2 separate regions of the Homo sapiens genome follow, and region 1 is linked to region 2. Evidence: promoter capture Hi-C in 16 types of primary human blood cells and fetal thymus (Javierre and others, 2016). All regions are on one chromosome and are shown on one strand. Each heading gives the region's core, a stretch centred on a gene start or on the middle of the fragment in contact. The rest is flanking DNA. Distances are from core to core; before and after follow the strand shown. Region 1 overlaps ELOVL6 (ELOVL fatty acid elongase 6). Region 2 holds the start of INTS12 (integrator complex subunit 12).

Region 1 (6,384 bases), core at 1,439-3,938, 4.5 Mb after region 2:
GGGCCGGGCACCTGTAATCCCACCTACTCAGGAGGCTGAGGCTTGAACCCAGGAAGCAGAGGTTGCAGTGAGCCAAGACCAGGCTCAAAAAAAAGAAAAGAAAAAGAAAATTGATTAGATGGTTATTGTATATCCCCCTAAGTATTTCAAAACCTCCGTCCCCCTCATAACTCTTCCACTATCTAAGCTGAAAGATTCCTCTGGCCGGGCATGGTGGCTCACACCTGTAATCCCAGCACTTTGGGAGGCCGAGGTAGGTGGATCACCTGAAGTCAGGAGTTCGAGACCAGCCTGACTAACATGGTGAAAACTCGTTTCTACTAAATACAAAAAAATCAGCCGGGTGTAGTGGCGCATGCCTGTAAACCCAGCTACTCAGGAGGTTGAGGTAGGAGAATCACTTGAACCCAGGAGGCAGAGGTTGCAGTAAGCCGAGATGGAACAATTGCACTCCAGCCTGGGCAACAAGGGCAAAACTCCATCCAAGAAAAAAAAAAAAAAGAAAGAAAGAAAAAAAAGAAAAAGAAAGATTCTTCTTTCAAGGAAGTATATAAGGCAACTCTTAGATATGGAATAAGTTGACTTTGAAGTTTCCAGCCATTTTTCTTACAAATGCACGCAGAAGGTTACGAGGAAGATTTCAGGAAGAAATTTAAAGCAATCCTCACTAAAGGAAAAACAACAGTGAAATACTATGTCTGCATTTGAAAAGTTTCATTAAGTTCCAATGTTATACACTTTGACACATTTAGAATCACCCTCAAACAAAAAAGCAACAGGCAATCCTCTGAAGATCACAAAATTTTACTTCCAATGTGAAAAAGACTTCATGAAAAAATTTTAAGCACTAATTATAACTAGTACAAATACACAGATGGATAATATAATCATAAAATATTTTGCATTAAGCTGGCTTTCATCCTTTGGAATCCTAAACAAGAATTGCATGAATATTTATAATTTATTAAAAGATACATGAAAGTTCATATCAAAGCTCCAGCACAACTTTACATTATTTTCTAGGACCCCACACAGATTACACGTTTTTTCTCTATGTATTTTCTCATTCTTCTCACTCTTAACCTAGTACATATGCCTACATCCCAGTGCTTTCTAAAAATTATTGAATGTCATGTTATGATCCTCACACAAGTTTTAATCCTAAATCAATATGAACTGTGATACCTCAAAATAAACAGCAAGTGACATGAGTACAATATAGACACACTATATTCCTACAGAGCTGACCAAATTTGTTGCTGCAATGTTAATGATGAAATGAAACTCTGGCCTACTCTGTTCCATAGTCACAGATGCACTGTTTTCCAGCCATTTTTCTTACAAATGAATGTAGAAGGTTGCAAGGAAGACTTCAGGAAGCAATTCAAAGCAATCCTCACTAAATGAAAAACAACAGCCAAATACTATGTCTGCATTTGAACAGTTTCATTAACATTATGCTGCTATATTTTTTATGCTGCTATATTTGAGTTAAATGCTAACACAGGTTTTTAGTGCTTTTTATGTTCTTTAATCATGAAATTGTACATCGTGTTACTTTCCAAACTTCACCTACAAAAAAGATATAGATGTACAACTCCTTTTAAAATGTTTCACGGCCGGTTGCAGTGGCTCAAGCCTGTTATCTCAGCACTTTCGGAGGCCGAGGTGGGCGGATTACTTGAGGTCAGGAGTTCAAGACCAACCTGACCAACACGGTGAATTCCCATCTCTACTAAAAATACAAAAATTAGCTTGGTGTCATGGCAGGCACCTGTAATCCCAGCTGCTTGGGAGGTTGAGACATAAGAATCACTGGAACCCGGAGGCAGAGGTTGCAGTGAGCCAAGATTGTGCCACTGCACTCCAGCCTGGGCAACAGAGTGAGACCCTGTCTCAAAAATAAAACAAAATAAAATAAAATGTTTCACTCCATTTTTACCTTTGGTAAAAACAAATTTGTGAATAAAAAGGCTTCCTCAGCTGAACAGCATTTAATTCTTAAAATTCCTATACTATCTTATAGACTCTATAATACAGAATACAAAATGTTAAAACAAGTAAACCCTTTTACACCACCAAGGGAGTGAGTGGGGAGAAAAGTCAGAAAAATATATAAAGCTTTGAAAGGCTGGATGTGTGGAGAATGCCAGGAGAGGGGGAGGGTTTCATGAAGTTCTAGGCAAGCCCTTTGAAGACGTCACCTCACATACATAATGTTACAGCAGTCAGCACAGGCCTCCTGCTTTCCTATTGGTGGGCACCGTGTCAGCCGACATCAGAAGATAATCATCATTGGCTAGACAATTACAACTGGAGCAACTAGCATCCACTGCTGTTAGCACAAACCTGGCAGGCTGCTGAAAGAGAAGGCAGAGAGAGCCCAGCTTCCCTTCTCACTCAATGAATTATATGTCGCCTTAGCAATCACCAGGTGATTTTGCTCCCTGGCTAGCAGCACTTCCAACTTAAGTCAGCTCTTAGTGAGAAAAACAGGTAAAGGCCAGACATCTCATAAAAGAGCAAAATGTCTCTATTTTCAATGTTGTAAAATTGCAAGGACTTTTCAGTGAAAATTAGAATTCAAAACTCCTATTTGGACCTATGAGCAGACATTTTTCTCTACCTCATGTAATAAACTCTCATTGACCAGATAATATAACCAGACAGGATATTTTTCACTGGACATGTAGTTTCAAGATGAGGCCCAGGATGATTCTACAAGGGAATACACTTATTACTTTGCATTTCAATTGCTATTCTAACCTATTATATATGAAACTTTTTGCTAGCAAAGTAAAAAAAGTCTGCAGTATTTACTTTCATGGCTAGGCCAATGAGTATGAGGTTAATGATTCATTAAAGCAGCAATAAACTTGAAAACTAGCCTCAGTTGAACCCTTTAGGGTTTATACAAATGCTACTCCAAAAGTCGGGCCCCATTCCATTAACACGTGCTATGGTTAGTAAGTATGGATTATAGGGTATGTTAACATTAATTTGCGCTATGGTTAGTAAGTATGGATTATAGCGTATGTTTAATAAAGTATTCTTATTTTAGGTCCTCTTAAATGATGCTAGTTAGCAAAGGCAGCATACTGGCAAAATACTACTCCTGGCCATTCTCACAGTTCTTCAAAAGCCAATGTAGTTCACTTTTGAGAGAGGATGTTTTAATTCTCTAAATTAACAAGTTTTGCCTGTTACTAAGAAGAGATTTATAAGGACAACCATAAATTCCCAAAAGACAGAGTAGAAGCTTCACTATATCATGTTTTTCCTCCAGAAGCTATTTCAAACCATTTTAAGTTAATGAGTCTGAAAAAGGTAAGATTTTATGGTTTCCTCAAGTTCCTCTCTCCTCAAGAGGGTCTAAGCCTTGGTTATGGAGTTCCCTTCTCCTATTAAAAAGGGAGTGAAAAGAAAATCTGGTTCAAGACTTTTTGTCCTGCATTAGCTGGATTCTATTAAAAATAAAAACTAAAAGCTTTAATTTGAACCTCCCGGGTTCAAGCAATTCTCCTGCCTCAACCTCCCGAGTAGCTGGGATTACAGGCACCCGCCACCACGCTCGGCTAATTTTTTTGTATTTTTAGTAGAGATGGGGTTTCACCATATTGGCCTGGCTGGTCTCGAACTCCTGTCGTCAGGTAATCCACCCACCTCAGCCTCCCAAAGTGCTGGGATTACAGGCAGGAGCCACCACACCCGGCTAATAAAATTAAATTTTAAAAAGTGTTTAAAGTCTTTTTGGCTGTACAGTTTTTGGGGAGGGAGGAGAGATAAAATTGGGCACCCTGGGATATTGGGAGAAATGCACAAAATCTGGCATTTAAAAAAAAACATGAAAGTAAGACAATTAGGGTCAGGAAGAGTTGCAAGGGAGGGGTAACAGCCAGCAGGGTTCTTTGACTGCAATAAGCAATCTAAGAACATAACATCAACAGAGAGCAGAAGCCAGGAAGGGAAAAATCCCAAGATGTGACTCTGCCACGGTATGCAAGTTCTAGCCTGTTAACCTTCGGGTATTAACGAGTAGTGCTGGCAATAAAATGGGCACCAATCACCATTTCAACTCACTGGACATTTTCTCAAGAATGTGCCTTATGCAAAGCACTCTGCTAGGTGCTTTGCAGAATCAAGAGTGGGATGACAAGAACCGTAACCTGAAGAGCTGATGGTCTGTAAGTTAATAACCATGTATATAACAGTAAAGGATATTGCCAGAAGAAAGGTACAGATAAAGAACTAGGAGGAAACAGTGGTCAGAACCTAACAGGAGTAGATACGTTGGCACATTTTTGTCATTTTCAGTCCCACGAGGGCTGAGACCTGTCTGGCTCAGTACTGAGTGAATGGAGAGAAGAGGCGGGAAATGGTACCTGAAGCAGGCCTAGGAAGTGGCCTCAGAGAAAAAGCAACAAGTAAATAAGAGGCAGTATCGACTGCAGTGGGCTAGGAATGGCGGGCGTACAGTGAATGGGGTCAGCCAGCAAAGCGAGGGAAAGCGGACTCCGGAAGAGCAGGTTAAACCAGGACGCAGCAAGTCAGAGATTCGGCACAGAAGCAAATGCTGACCACACTGACCACACAGGCTAATGCGGGAGGACTGTGGGCCCGAACAGGCCGGCTGGAGGATATGACAAACATGTGCGGAGAAGACCCGGGCCCGGGGCTAGCCAGCAGCGCGGTTCCGGCGCCCGCCGGCTCCGGCCACCGCCCCCTCCCCGCCTCCAGCACCACCCCCTAAGCGGGAGGAGGAAGTGCATCCAGAGAAGGACCCCGGGCGGTGGGGCTCGAGGGGCCTCGGCTGCCCCGAAACGCCGAGGTCTATCTGCGGTCTCGACCCTTAGTGTCCAACCTCCTTCCGGACCCACCCCTGCACCCCCTGGCCTCAGCGGCCCGGGAGGGCACCAGCCCTGTGCCTGTGTGGCTGCTGCACTTCCAGTCCTTCCGAGCGGCCCGCGTCCCCGCCTCTTAGGCTCCGGCTCGGGCCAGACGCGGCCCTTGGGCCCCTAGCCCACCGCCGCCACCAGCCACGCCGCAGCTCACCCCAAGCAGGCCTGCCCCGCCGGTGCGCGCGGCCCAGGAGGCGGGCTCCGCCCGGCAGCCGCCGCAAATGGCCATTGGGGCCCGGACCAGCCCGCGGGAAGCTGGGAGTGGGCGCGCTCCGGCCGGGCGGGAGGAGAAGGAAGCGGCGGCCGGGCCTCCCGACACTGGCCGGCGACTCCAGGGGGCTGGAGGACAGGAAGTTGAAACCCCCTTTTCGCAGCTGCGGCCCCGTGGCACCAGCTCCTACTGCACCAACCCGCCCAGGCCACAGGCGCGCCGGCGTTTCTGGTTTCCAGTTGAAGAGGGCAGGCGGGAGGGCGCGGGGCACGCGCGCTCGCGCACGCGGCGGGCGGAATCCCCCGGCTCCCGGGAGACCCTGCGGCCCGACCCTCCCCGGTCAAGCCATCCCCCGGGCTGCCGGCCCCTTGCCTAGCTCCGGGGTGCGTTGGGCTTGAACTTTACAGATCGCCAGACCCGAAGTTAAGGGGAGGAGAGGAATGCCTCTGCCACAACCCTGTCTACAAGAAGCGAGATGAGCACACCCTCCTCTGTTAAATATTGCAAGGTGACACTGGATCGCCTCCCACACAGGGATTTTCAAAAGGTCTGGCGGGGGGACTACAGTAAACAAGAAAGGTGTTTTCCCTGATTATTAGTTTCCTAGGGAAGAGCCCCTAAGGACTCTGCAGACGGAGGGGCTTTTAATCTGTGTGCCTGAACTCCAATCAGCAGCTACGCACAGAATTAGAAGTGTGTCCAAAAGGCGTTTCCGTAAAACAGAAACTTAATAATGGCGTGGCTCCACTCGCTCGGGTTCATTCATTTATTACTGTTTTCATTGTCCCCTCCTCCCTCCCACCCGGTCTCTCTATGAAACCGGAAAGGGAACCGCGTGGGGAAAGGGGTACTAAAAAGGGGGCATCCGCCTGAGGAGCGGCAGACAGAGGAGGACGGTGAAGTAGGAGCGCTGCAAGGAGAAAGGAAGGACACGAGGGATGGAGAGACAGCGAGGACCAGGGCCAAGGGCGGCGGGCGGGAGAGGGTTAAAGGCAACAGGAGACAAGGTCCTCCCTCCACTGCCTTTCACACTCCGGTTGCGGGAGAGGCCAAGCGAGAAAACCCAAATCTAGATGAAAACCGGGGGAGGGGAGGGGAGCACAGGTAGGCGATCTGGACTGTGGCATCTCTCCCGCCTTCCCTGTCGCGCAGACATCACCCTGTGCACACACATATGTTCTGTGTTATATAATCTATATAAAAGATGCCTATGTAGCCGCGGTTCACACAGGGGCACCCACAGACCTCGCGCTTCATGTACCCCCCCCCCCCCAG
Region 2 (5,579 bases), core at 2,736-5,235:
TTTCTCCTAACCAGTTCTTCCTCTAGTAATCCCTTTTTCAAATGATATTTACCCTATTGCCCAAGCCAGTAACCCAGAAGCAGCTTTAACTCTTCCCACTTCCTTAATTCCCACCCCCAATTCAATAACCAAACCTCTTAAACATACCTCAAATCTATCCACCCTTTTCAATCCTTACTACTACCACCCTAGACCAACCTAGCATCATCTATTATCTGGCCCACTGCAAAAGCTTAATCAGTCTCCCACAATCACTCTTGTCATCCCTTTAAACCTTTTCATATCACTCACTTGCTTAAAATCCTTTTATCACTTCTCACAATCCAAAGGTTCAAGAATAAGATTCTTAACAAGGTCTCCAATTCTCTACATCAGGGGTCCCTAACCTTCAGGCCATGCAGCAGGAGGTGAGCAGTAGGCAAGCGAGGGAAGCTTCATTTGTATTTACAGCCACTCCCATCACTTGCATTACTACCTGAGCTCTGCCTCCTGTCACATCACTGGTGGAATTAGATTCTCATAGGAATGCGAATCCTATGTGAACTGTGCATGTGTGTGATCTACGTTGTGTGCTCCTCATGAGAATCTAATGCCTGATGATCTGTCACAGTATACCCCATCATCCCCAGATGAAACCGTCTAGCTGCAGGAAAGCAAGCTCAAGGTTCCCACTGATTCTACATTATGGTGAGTTGTCCAATTATTTTATTATATATTACCATGTAGTAATAAGAGAAATAAAGTGCACAATAAATGTAATGCACTTGAATCATCCTGAAACCATGTCTTCAATGAAACTGGTCCCTGGTGCCAAAAAGGTTGTGGACCATTGCTCTACATGATTAATAATACATATAAAGCAGTTACAACAGTACCTGACACATAGTTGACACTCATTAAATGTTACCTAGTATCTTAGGCCATTCTCACTCTCTCTGTTATAGCTATCTGACTTATTTCAAGTCCTCCAATATACTCTTTCTTACCTTAGCACTTCAGTAGAAAGTGTGCCACCCCCACCTCCATCTTAAGTCACCTCTCAAGTTTCAGTTTTTCCTGCACATTCCCTCAACAAAACTAGAAGTTTCACTGTTACATAGCCCAAAAACATTCTGTACTTATTTGTAATATTAATCACACTGTTAATTATGTAAATAATCTTTCTTTCTCATTAGAATGTAAGTTCCATGAAGGCAGGCAGTGGATTGGTCTTGCCTACTGTTGTAACCCCTGTCTGGCAGAGTTCCTGGAAAACAGCAAATAACTGTAAATGTTGGCCAAGTAAATACTTGTTATCTACTTCCAATTTCATAAAACTTTCTCTTCCCTTGAGTTCTGTTATACTCAACTTTTCTGTTTTTCCTCTTCTATCTCTGACTACTCTTTCTTTGGCTTATCTTCTTTGTTGCTTTTGGTATTGTCCAAGTATTTGTCCTTGGCTATCTTCTTAGTTCTGCTAGCAGTTTCTTCTTGGTAATCTTATACACATCAGGTTTTCAACTATCATCTCTGGGTAGATGATTTAATATGTTTTACCCCAACTTCAATCTCTTTTTTTTTTTTTTTTTTTTTGAGACATGGTCTTGCTCTGTCACCCAGGTTGGAGTGCACTGAGATCATGGCTCACTGCAGCCTCGAACTCCTGGGCTCAAGTGATCCTCCTGCCTCAGCCTCCCAAGCAGCTAGGACTACAGGCATGCACCACCGTAACCATGCCCAGGTAATTTTGTTGTTTTTTAAGTAGAGCCAGGGTCTTGCTATGTTGCTCTTATCTGGTCTCAAACAATCCTCCTGTTGTGGCTTCCCAAAGTGCTGGGATTACAAGTGCGAGCCAAATCTCTTAAATTTGAATCCCATGTTTCCAAATGCTTAGTGTATGTGTCTATGTGATTCCTTAATGGCATCTCAAATTCAGTTACAACTAAAATTGAGATTCTGATTATCTTCCCGAAAAGTTCCTTGTCCTGCTCTTACTTTCAATAAATGACACAACTTTCTTTTAGTCAGGTTTGAGACCAAAGTCTTTCCTTCACTGAGTCTTTCCCTACTCCTTATATTCAAATAATCAGAATTCCTGTGGATTCTGACGGCAATATTTTTCACACTTGTCCTACTTTTCACTTCCACTGCTACTACTGAAATTCAGGTTTTATTAGCTTACTTGAACTATGGCAATAACCTCGTTATTTTCCTTGACTTCAACATTGTTGCCATATGAATTTTCCTGAAACCCAGTTTTCTTCTTTTTCATTAAAATAAAAAAAAAAATTCTTGCTGAGAAGTTAGGGCTTTCTACCACCTTCGAAATAAAGACCAAATTTCTTGGCCTAGCATTTAAGAAGATTCAGTAACTGGCACAAAAATTATCATTCATCATCCCCAGATCTGCCTTATAGCTAGCTGACCCTGCCACTCTTATTTTTTTTGTCCAGGAAGCTCTTTACCTATTTTTATATATCTACATCCTATCAAGACCCTATTCAAATACTTCTCATGAAGATTTGACTGACAGCTGCTGTGCCCCTCTCCATTCCAAACCCTATTAATAGTCTCTCCATTCAAGGATATCTCATAGTGCTTTTTCATGGTATTGCAACTTTCTCCCTTGAAGCATTTTTTTTTTTTTTTGGCACAAGTGTTATGTCCCCTACAAAACTCTGAGTACTTTAAGGGCAGAGTCTATATTTATCTTTTTGCCTATCTCTTTGCCACTTTGCAAAGTACAACAAAATAATGGCTATAGAATTACTGGAATTAAGTGATCAAAGTATAGTGGTCTTATCTCTCCTTCTACACAATTGTAGCCATTTCCAAGGTCCCTTCAGCAAAAATCACAAAAGTAACTCACCCCTGCCCCCACAAAAAAAACTCCAAACATCAAAAAAGCAAAAGCAAAGCAATCACCTCTTTCACGACTGGGGACTTGTAGTACAATGTTCCTATCTGTAAAATTCTCACAATCTTTCGCCTGTCTTGCTTAATTCATTAATCCCACTGGTCTGTAAACTTGATGACAGCAGGAACTTGTTTTGTTCACTGTTATTTCCCTAGTGCTTGAAACTTAATAAGGGCTCAAAAATATTTATCGAATGAACGAACTAGGTTTTTTGCGTAAATGTCACCTTATAAGGCTTCTGTGATCTCTCCAGTCTAAATTGGGCATTCATATATAAATATAAGTATGTGCTTTCTCCTAGATCCATTTTTCACCCTACCTGGCAATCTCAAAAGAAGTCCAAAGTTGATCATATGCACGTGCCCCAGATGAAGGAAACAGAAACTGTTCACATAGAGTGCAGTATTATCGTTGCCATTTCATAATGGCTCTAAAAAACTTTGTTCTTCATGACTTCGCAAGCTCTTGCAACCCCTTCCAATAAACATTATTTTAAAGATGCTGCCTTTTTCATTCCTCCACTGAGTTCTTGGTTCTGGATAACACTGATACCTTAGGGACACCTGGAATCGCAGGAGAAAAGGCTCCGATTCCAAACCAATCAAGTGGCTGAAAGCTGACAGCAAACACTTAGAAAAGGAATGTCAATCCTTTGATCAAAGCATCACACATCGAAGTCCTAGAATGGGGGATGGTCCTTGACAGGGGAGCCAAAAGATGAGAGACAATGAGGGAGCTACGTAGAGAAGTCACTAAAACCCTCCGACAAAGTCCGAGGCAGGATTCCAAGTCCCTTGTCCCTAGACCTAGAAATATGCTCGGTCCGCATGTCCCGGCCCGCAACTCCCTCGGAGGAAGCACAGTCCTCACTGAAAGGGGAGAGCAGTCAGTCTAGGGCACGCAACCGCCCGTAAATTATGATTCCCCTTGAGGAGCGAGGAAACTAATACCCCACGTAGCTACTCTCCCACCTCGCTCCTGGCGCGGGGGTCTCGAGCCTCCAGGAGGCCAGGAGCAGAGTCGCTCAGCATAACTCACCGTTCCGCCCCGCCCTGCCGATCCGTCTGTTCCCGGTGGTCCCTTCGGAAACGGTTCCCGCACTGGCCGGCTCCGAAAGCAGGAAAACAAAGGTTCCCACAGTAGGGGCGGGGGAAACGTTTGGCAGTGCGACAGTAGGAAGTGACGTTACTTCCCTTTTTCCGGTCCGCCGGATTATGAATGACGGCCGGCGCGAGTATTTTCCACATAAGGTGGCTGTCGTTTTTCTCCTGGCGTCTGTGGAGGCGAGTGGTCTGCGGGCAGCAGCTCCCAGAGGCAGCCTTGGAATTCCAGCTCGGACTGGGCGGGAAGGCGCAGGCGGCCCAGGTCGCCGACACGCTCACGCACCCTCCCTGCCTGGCCGCGCCTCTGCGACCAGGTAAAGAGGGCGCTCGGGCCGCCGGCTTCTCAGCCTCCGCGACCCCCTAAGAACTGGTCTTTTCTTCGGGGGTCTGCAGGGCTGAGGATGCGGGGGAAGGGTGGGAAGGACAAGGGCGTGGTATCATCGTCCTGATTTTTCTCCCGCCCTGGGGCCGCCTCAAACTCCTTTTTGGCCACTCCTGCTGAAGGTGCGGGTTGAGGGCTCTGGGCTTCTCGGTAGTACGCGTTTCCCAGTTTCCCCCTAGCCAGTCCCTCATGTCTTCCTCTGCTGATGGAGAAATGGGGCAGCTTCCAGTTGGAGGCGTTGGTTGGGGTGGTTTGATATTTGCTGTTAAGTGTTACTTCAAGACCTCTTGGGTCACACTAACTTCTCTTCTCTCTTTGGCATTGAGTTTTCCATTCCAGCCCTTCCTGATTGCAGAAAGCAGTTCTATGTGAATACTACTTAACATTTACTCCAAAGGACTTGCTTCATTTGGGGCCATTTGCTTATGTTTTGTCATCACAGCAGTATCTCTTGGGTTTTTAACTTCTATAGAAAGTTTAATTTGCATGAAAGTTGCTTTGGTTTCAAAAACGTTTGCTAATACACGTACTTCCCATCCCAACTTTCTACCTGGTTTTGGGATGAGATGACTTGTTTTTTTCCCCTTTATTCTTAATGCCAGGATCCCATTCCTTGTCATAAATTCTTGAATATCAAGAAAATGCCAGCTTTAGTAATATATTGTGTGCTACATTATTGATAAAGAAGGTGGTGTATTTCTATTTTACCTAAGCTTATCTGTAAAAACAATGTTTACAGGAGAAAATGCAAAAGCTAGCAAGAACTAGTGATGTGATAATTTTAAACATGTAAACATAGTCATTTAAATCCATGATAATAAACTGTTATAACACAACTAAGTGATTCGCTGTCATATTTAATAAACATTAAGCTATGCGGGTTTTTTTTTCTTTTTTTTTAACTGCCTGATGGGGAGCATACACCACTGAGAGGATTGCTTTAAGCACACTCATTACTAAAAATTGTGTTTGTATTACACCTGAAAGTATCGTTTTGTGAGGTCTCACTTCAAAAATAAGACTGAAAAGGTCAATGAGATTTGAGAATCATCATTTCTTTTTATTTTATATACTTTGCACTTCTACGTGTTTTTGCTTTAATTTAAACACAGCTCAAACTTGAGCTTCTGTAGTAGTGGGCCCATCAATTTTTTTTTTTTTTTTTTTTTTTGAGCTGGAGTCCTGCTCTGTCGCCTGG

Evidence for each region. Contacts are between HindIII fragments. The CHiCAGO score rates a contact against its expected background, and 5 or more counts as called.
Region 1: a fragment that was not itself captured here is called in contact with the fragment with the promoter of INTS12 in region 2 in 1 of 17 cell types (fetal thymus); the score reaches 7.2 in fetal thymus.

What each region holds. Positions count from the first base shown.
Region 1 is chr4:110,191,706-110,198,089 of GRCh38, forward strand. All of the region lies in intron 1 of ELOVL6 (ELOVL fatty acid elongase 6), which reads right to left. Among named protein-coding and RNA genes, the nearest start is that of ELOVL6, 3.7 kb to the right of the region's middle. RefSeq lists an enhancer at 4,608-4,902 and silencers at 4,637-4,746, 4,947-5,576. The HindIII fragment of the contact is 1,138 bases long and covers 2,120-3,257 here.
Region 2 is chr4:105,704,704-105,710,282 of GRCh38, forward strand. INTS12 (integrator complex subunit 12) reads right to left here and starts at 3,986. Exons shown (of 8, transcript NM_020395.4): 1 at 3,935-3,986. GSTCD (glutathione S-transferase C-terminal domain containing) reads left to right here and starts at 4,081. Exons shown (of 12, transcript NM_001370181.1): 1 at 4,081-4,313. LOC124900747 (a long non-coding RNA gene) reads left to right here and starts at 1,679. Exons shown (of 2, transcript XR_007058214.1): 1 at 1,679-1,720; 2 at 3,198-3,393. LOC124900748 (a long non-coding RNA gene) reads left to right here. Exons shown (of 3, transcript XR_007058215.1): 2 at 611-687; 3 at 1,176-1,271. RefSeq lists an enhancer at 4,061-4,310. The HindIII fragment of the contact is 4,662 bases long and covers 431-5,092 here.